Linked DNA regions of Homo sapiens: region 1 is linked to region 2. The links are contacts of gene promoters, found by promoter capture Hi-C in blood cells and fetal thymus (Javierre and others, 2016). All regions are on one chromosome and are shown on one strand. The core of a region is centred on a gene start or on the middle of the fragment in contact, and the rest is flanking DNA. Distances in the headings are between cores, read along the strand shown. Region 1 has its middle 17 kb from the start of NOLC1. Region 2 holds the start of PITX3 (paired like homeodomain 3).

Region 1 (3,936 bases), core at 1,291-3,790, 73 kb after region 2:
AGGCCGAGGCGGGCAGATCACGAGGTCAAGAGATCGAGACCATCCTGGCTAAAACGGTGAAATCCCGTCTCTATGAAAAATACAAAAAATTAGCGTGGCGGGCGCCTGTACTCCCAGCTACTCGGGAGGCTGAGGCAGGAGAATGAAGTGAACCCGGGAGGCGGAGCTTGCAGTGAGCGGAGATCAGGCCACTGCACTCCAGACTGGGCGACAGAGCCAGACTCCGTCTCAAAAAAAAAAAAGTTACATGGTCATGCTATCCATGAGGAAGTCCCACCACCACATGGGTCAGCTGCCCCTATTACATGCTCTCATAGCTCTGTACAACCTGCCTTCACACACTGAAGTTTGTATTTACACATTTATTTGTGAGGATTAATATTTTTGTCCCTCACTAGTCGGACAAACTTTTTGTCTTTTTTGAGTAAACAAAACTTTTTTTGAGTAAACTTTGATTGCTGGAACTGTGTTTTTTGTTCATTCAGGATTGTATCTGCAACAGCTACCACACAGGATCACATGTCATGTACCTGGCGCATGGCAGCCACTCATATTTTCTGAATGGATGAATTTTTGCTGAATGGATAAATTTCTGTTTGGCAGGCTAATTTCTTGAAATACTCTGTACTTCCTCTGCCACTTGGAAGTATCCACTTCCAAGGCGGAAGCCTGGCATTTGTTCTCCTCAATCCTGAGCTCCTTGAGATTATGCTGGGAGAGGAGGGAAGAGAGAGGAGAGAGGAGAAGGCATCAAAGCCTCTGAGCTCCCAGACCTAGGAAGAACACAGGCCCGCAATTTCCATCAGCAGTGGGATCTGCAGCCGGTCACCCTTGCAGGAGCCCGAAGGCCCTGCCAGGACCTGGAGGTAGGGTTGGGGTTCCACGGGGAACATTAATCTTCTACAAGCCATGTTGCCTGCCACTGGCTTTCAGGTATCAGGTAACCTCTCATGGATAACCAGTACAGACCAGAGACCAGAAAACCTCCCTTCTCGGCCGGGCGCGGTGCCTCACGCCTGTAATCCCAGCACTTTGGGAGACCGAGGCGGGCAGATCATGAGGTCAGGAGATGGAGAGCACGGTGAAACCCCGTCTCTACTAAAAAATACAAAAAAATTAGCTGGGCGCCGTAGCGGGCGCCTGTAGTCCCAGCTACTCGGGAGGCTGAGGCAGGAGAATGGCGTGAACCCAGGAGGCAGAGCTTGCAGTGAGCCGAGATGGCACCACAGCACTCCAGCCTGGGCGACAGAGCGAGACTCTGTCTCAAAACAAACAAACAAACAAACAAACAAAAAACCCCTTCTCTAATTTCCAAAACTAAAGAGCCTCAGATGAGGGCCTGTGTCTTATTCATCTGTGTATCCAAAGGCTCACAGTGGGCTCTTCAAGGTGTTTTTTTTTTTTTTTGAGACGGAGTCTCGCTCTGTCGCCCAGGCTGGAGTGCAGTGGCGCTATCTCGGCTCACTGCAAGCTCCGCCTCCCGGGCTCACGCCATTCTCCTGCCTCAGCCTCCCGAGTAGCTGGGACTATATAGGCGCCCGCCACGGCGCCCCGCTAATTTTTTGTATTTTTAGTAGAGACGGGGTTTCACTGTGTTAACCAGGTTGGTCTCGATCGGCTGACCTCGTGATCCGCCCGCCTCCGCCTCCCAAAGTGCTGGGATTACAGGCGTGAGCCACTGCGCCCGGCTCTTCAAGTTTGTTGAATAGCACTGGAGTAAGTAAGGAGTTAAGCTTCTATTTAAGTCCAGCCCAGCTCCCTAAACAGGGGGGCAACATCGCCACCTACTGGCCCCATCGGTAACTGCAGACAGGCTCTGCAGGAGGGATTTGAGAACTTCGTGGTCCGGCAGAAATAGTGCTTTCACCGCAACCGGATTAGTGCCAGGAGTATTGTATTAGACTATCAAATCTCCTAACATACTCAGGTGGACAAAATAAAGTACTAATTCCTAACTTAGGTACAAAAGGCCATTGACATTGAACTCTCAGTGAAATTTCGCAGTATCTTGCCCCCACCTCCCGCACACCTCTGCTTGACCCATTCTAACAGCCCTCTTCTCCCACTGGAAAAGGCACTCTTCCTTACACGGTATGCACTTTTCTCGCTCCTGGCAAACTGCAGCTGTCTTCAGAATCCTAGGCCACCATCAGCCAAGTCTTTTCTTCTTCTTCTTCTTCTTTTTTTTTTTTTTTTTTTTTGAGACAGAGTTTCACTTTGTTGCCCAGGCTGGAGTGCAGTGGCACGATCTTGGCTCACTGCAACCTCCGCCTTCCGGTTTCAAGCGATTCTCCTGTCTCAGTTTCCTGAGTAGCTGGGATTACAGGCGCCTGCCACCACACCTGGCTAATTTTTTGTATTTTTAGTAGAGACGAGGTTTCACTATGTTGACCAGGCTGGTCTCGAACTCCTGACCTCGTGATCTGCCTGCCTCGGCCTCCCAAAGTGCTGGGATTACAGGTGTGAGCCACCACACCGGGCCAAGCCAAGTATTTTCTTGCTTGTACCCTTAGGGGTGCTACTCTGACCTTCAGTTTGGGACAGAACTCAGCTCAGTGCACAGAAACCATTCCCATGCCTGACTTTCCCCATTAGACACTGAGCTCTCTGGGAGTTCTATGACGAGTACATAGCAGGTTCACAAAGACTATTGAATACAGGTAGCTCCATGTTTGGACATACAGAGACCTGTGTTCTTGTCTCAATGTGCCACTAAGTTGCAGTTTCATCAACCCTAAGTAAATCATTTGATACTCAGGGCTGTTTCCGTAGTGGTTTTCAACTAGGGGCAATTTTCCTTCCCAGAAAATATTTGGCAATGCCTGGAGCCGTTTTTGGTTGTCACAACTAGGGGAAACTATTGGCATGCAGTGTTAGAGGCCAGGGACGCTGCCACACATCCTACAACACACAGGACAGTCCTCAAAAGCAAAGACTTACCTGGCCCCAAATGGAATGATCTACTCGATACCCACCTAACAGGGTTGCAGTAAGGCTACACCGGGCGAAGGGCAAGCCCCCAACAGGGCATTAGGAAGTCTCCTGCCTGTGTCCATGAAGCATGATGCAGAGGGGCATGAGCCATGTGTCTGGTTGACTGAATTTGCGGATTTCAGTGCCAGAGCCCATCAGCAAGGGGTAGGAATTCCAGATTCTTCACAAAACTAAGAAGTTTCTAATAGGACCAATTCCACATATCCATTTTTGTATCAGGAATAAAGATGATAAACGTGAAACAACAAAAAACCATTGCAGGGAAATAATCATTAACATATGCTTGATGCCTTTGCCAAAATGGCATGTTGCACATCACAAGGAAACCAAAGAACATCATTTCCAAAGCTTTTTTTGTTGAGCAAGAGGCAGTTATGGAGTGCTTATAATATGCCAGGGACTGTACTAAGTGCTTTAAATTCTCAGTCCTTACAACAAGCCTCTGAGAGAGTCAAGAATCTACAAATGAGTTGAGATAGTATTCTCTCTTTTTTTGAGACAGAGCCTTGCTCTGTCACCCAGCCTGGAGTGCAGTGGTGCGATCTCAGCTCACTGCAAGTAGCCAGGATAGTCTCGATCTCCTGACCTCGTGATCCACCCGCCTTGGACTCCCAAAGTGCTGGGATTACAGGCCCAGCCAGTATTCTCATTTTACATCAGAAGGTACACTCTGGGCTGGGCACAGTGGCTCACGCCTGTAATCCCAGCACTTTGGGAGGCTGAGGTGGGAGGATTGTTTGAGAGTAGCCTGGGCAACACAGGGAGACCCTGTCTCTACAAAACAAAATTAAAAACAAAAACAAAAACAAAACAAACAAAAAAACAACTAGCCAAGCCTAGTGACTACTGTAGTCCCAGCTACTCAGGAGGCTGAGGTGGGAGGATCTCAGCTACTCAGGGGGCTGAGATCAGAGTATCTGCTTGAGCCCCAGAGGCTGAGGC
Region 2 (3,963 bases), core at 1,368-3,867:
TGAGAGAGTCTTGCTTTGTCATCCAGGATGGAGTGCAGTGCTGTGATCTTGGCTCACTGCAACCTCCACCTCCTGGGTTCAAGTGATTCTCCTGCCTCAGCCTCCCAAGTAGCTGGGATTACAGGCATCTGCCACCACACCAGGCTAATTTTTGTATTTTTAGTAGAGATGGGGTTTCACCATGTTGGACAGGCTGGTCTCGAACTCCTGACCTCAGGTGATCCACCCGCCTCAGCCTCCCAAAGTGTTGAGATTACAGGTGTGAGCCACCACACCTGGCCACGATGCTCTAGTGTAAAGCACCCATCAGATATCAGACGTGAAGAACCCCTCAGTAACTTCCTACACCTGCACATTGGGCTTCTGGTCGGTGGGTCCAGCTGAGGATCTAGCCTCTATCACCCAAAGAGAGTCAGGGAAAGAGGATATACCATCATAGCACCTCTTTCCACATTACCTCAAAGCCATTTTCCTCTTCATTTGAAAACTGAGAGTTGGTGTCCTGGGCCTGTCTCAGATTGAGAGGTCCTGGAAAGCCGATTGGAAAATCCTCTAAGTGGGCCAAAAATTTCTGCTCGCCAATATCTACTTCTACATACCTCCAGAAATTCATCATTCTAAAAGCATGTGATTGTGCAATAGAGATGGGGAGGAGAGAGATGACAATTCCCTAGTCCCTCCTAACCACTAATCATCATCTTACCAGGCAGAACATCTTCCTCATAGATTTCAGTGTGACATTTATTGAGATTCTACATTATGCCTGGGAATAACAGACATGGTCCTTACCCTCCTAAATTTTATTATCATAGCAGACAACACATAAGCTGATCCCTTCAATATGGTGGGTGGTGTAATAGAAGGTATACACTGAGGGTCATGAGAGCAAGGGGCTAAACTGAGAGTTCAGAAAAGGCTTCCCAGAGAAAATAAGACTTGAGTGGAACATTGGAGGAGTAGGAATTGACAATATAAAGATGGGTTACTTTCACAGGAAGGGCCAGAGGTGTGCAGGACACTACTAGGAAATTGGAGATGAAGACAAGGTCAGGTCCTGAAGGTCTTGTATGCCAGGCTAGGGAGCTTGACCTTTATCCTAAGGGCAATGGGAGTCACTGAACAGTCAAGACATGACTGCTCAGATTTGCCTTAGGGGCATATTGTGTGACTGGGCTTAGGCTCTTTTTTTTTTTTTTTTTTGAGACAGAGTCTTGCTCTGTCGCCCAGTCTGGAGTGCAGTGGCGCGATCTCAGCTCACTGCAAGCTCTGCCTCCTGGGTTCACGCCATTCTTCTTCCTCAGCCTCCCCAGTAGCTGAGACTACAGGCACCCGCCACCAAGCCCGGCTAATTTTTTGTATTTTTTAGTAGAGATGGGGTTTCACCGTGTTAGCCAGGGTGGTCTCAATCTCCTGACCTTGTGATCCGCCCGCCTCGGCCTCCCAAAGTGCTGGGATTACAGGCATGAGCCACAGTGTTTGGCCTGGGCTTAGGCTCTTCGGAGCACCCAAGCAACATAGCCTAACTGGGAGAAGAGAAGGAGCCTGTTTCCTGGAAATTGAGGCCTAAGTCAGAGAGGGCCGAAGTCACAGTCTGCCAGGATGTTCCTTGGTCATCTGTCCTGTCCCTTGCAAATTCCTAACCAGCAGGCACCAAGGCCACACCTTGCCCACAGGACTTAACCTGGTACCACCAGCGGGAAACCAGCCCTGCTGAAGGAGGGAGAGCACAGCCTAAGCAAGACAAGGGTACAGACTGAAAGGCAATGCCTTTGGAGTGCCCAGCCCAAGCCCTGAGATCCAGCAGGAACCTCCTCTTAATTGTTTTGCGCGGGGAGGGAGATGATAGTTACTCGTCCAAGTTCACTCAGTGATGGTGCAGTTCGTGGCAGCGTTGGAATACTACTTTGGTTTGTATCATTCCAAACCCTGCTGTCTCCACGAAGTCACCTTCCTTGGAGAAGAAGGGGGAAATGAAGAAGAGGAAAGATATGAGGAAAGAGGAGCAGAGAGAAAGAGAAATGAGTCTTTTAAAGTGGCAGAGGAAGGAGAATGGTAAACAGCAGGAGCGAAGCGGCTGAGGAGAAAGAAGAGGAAAGAAAGGCGAGACGTGGGAGGATTGGAACAGAGACAAAAGGGAGGAGAGACGGACAGCGACAAGTGGAGAAAATCGGCGAAACTTGAGTGGCAGAGAAGTCTGAGCGCTGAGACCCGGCGGCCCCGTGCGCCTTCCCACCTGGCGCCGATCCACTTTCCTCGGGGTAGCGGCCCAACCCACTTCGCTGCCAGCCGATCCCTTTTACCCGTGGCTACCGGGACCACTCTACTCTCGCCCACTTGGCTCTGCCTAAGCGTCCTAGCCGGAGCGCGGTCTCTGCCACGTGGGGAGGGGCGCGGCCGAGTTGCTGAAGAGCGCTTCTGATTGGCCAGAGGGCGGGGTTCTTGGCGTCTCGCCGGCCAGACCCCTCCCTCAAAGGCGGGGCCTGGAGATCCACAGCTGGAAAGGGCGGAGCCCCAGCAGGGCAGCTGGAAAGGGGCGGGGCCTGACGCGCGCGGCTCGCCGCGGCGGGCTGGGGGCGCCCTGGTCTGCCATAAAGTGAATGGGCGCCGGCTGGGGGTGGCAGTACGCGGTGAGGCTCACTCCCTCCGAGAGTCCAGGAGCGCCCGAGCGGAGAGGCGGCCCGGGAGCAGGGGGGCGGCCCCCACTCCGGCCGGGTGCCCGGCCCCTGGCCCCTGCCTGCCCTCTAGATCGCCGCCGCAGCCGCCGCTACTGGGAGTCTGCCTGTTGCAGGACGCACTGTGAGTGTTTGACCATTCTAAGGACAGGGGCTCATGGGGCCGAGGAGCTATTGCTGGACCTTGGAATCCCTAAAACGAGACCTGGGGCAGCTGAACTCCGGTGCCTTGGGAACAGGTCGAGAATGGGAGGGCGGACTGCAGACCTGGGGCCAGGACTTGGGAAAAGGGAAACTCAGGGTAAGAACCAGGGGATAGGGAAGGGGGAGACTCAGAGGATCCGGAACGAAGCCGGAGACTTGAAACCAGGATAGGGGCTTCGCGAGGCAGGGAGTAGGGAGTCTGGAAACCATTACCAGAAAGCGCCCTGGAATCCCAGGGCACGGGGCAGGCGGCCAGGGAGCGAAAGGGGTTACAGAGGCCCTGGCCAGCGGGGGAGCTGGCGGGGCGGCCCCCAGTGTGGGGGCAGTTGACGGCGCCCGATGCCCCTCGGCCTAGGCTCAGACTCCTGGGGCTGGGAGCCGGGGTGCGCCTGGTCGCACACGCTTCTCTTCCCAGCTGCTCCGCAGTTGGAATAGGAGCTGTGTTGTGAGAGCCCGGCCGCGACTGAGTCAGATGGCCGCTGTGCGGATCAGAGTGACCAGGCGGCGGGTATAGTGGATCTGGCTTGGGGTGTCTGGGCCCAGAAGGGTCCTGACTTGAGGCCGCCTCAGAATCGGACAGAATGTCCGCGGTGCATGGGGCTCGGAGCGGACAGAATGTCCGGGTAGCGAAGTGGGTCTCTCCGGAGCGGGAGTTGTGTCTGGCAGTGGCGGACAGAATGTCCCTGGCTGGGTGGCATGTCCGTCTACCCAGCAGCGCCTGCCCAGCTGCTGCGTGTGCGATGGGGTCGGCTGCGGTGGGTCACCTCAAATCCCAGCTCACACTTTGCAAACTTGTTTCAGCTCCTTCGGGCTGCGAAGCTGTGAGCAGGGAGCGAGAGTAAAGGCTACAACCTGGCCTTGGGGTGAGGTGGGCTGGGACACATGCCCCCTTCAATTCAGAATAGATCAGAGCATCACTCTGTACTTCCAGAATCCAAATTTGAGGACAGAAGGCCAATGAGGAGCCTGCTAGTGGGAATCAAGACCAGGAAAGGAAGGAATAGGTGACAAAAGGCAATGGGAAAACAGGAAGGAGCTGGGTACAAGCCCCTGGCAGCCTCAGTTGCCCCCTAATTCCAATACAATT

Evidence for each region. Contacts are between HindIII fragments. The CHiCAGO score rates a contact against its expected background, and 5 or more counts as called.
Region 1: a fragment that was not itself captured here is called in contact with the fragment with the promoter of PITX3 in region 2 in 1 of 17 cell types (megakaryocytes); the score reaches 5.3 in megakaryocytes.

The regions. Positions count from the first base shown.
Region 1 is chr10:102,167,449-102,171,384 of GRCh38, reverse strand. No RefSeq gene overlaps it. Among named protein-coding and RNA genes, the nearest start is that of NOLC1, 17 kb to the right of the region's middle. The HindIII fragment of the contact is 1,609 bases long and covers 1,736-3,344 here.
Region 2 is chr10:102,240,166-102,244,128 of GRCh38, reverse strand. It overlaps PITX3 (paired like homeodomain 3), which reads left to right and starts at 2,617. Exons shown (of 4, transcript NM_005029.4): 1 at 2,617-2,796. It also overlaps a transcript of GBF1 not described here. RefSeq lists a silencer at 2,466-2,755. The HindIII fragment of the contact is 9,988 bases long and covers 1-3,963 here.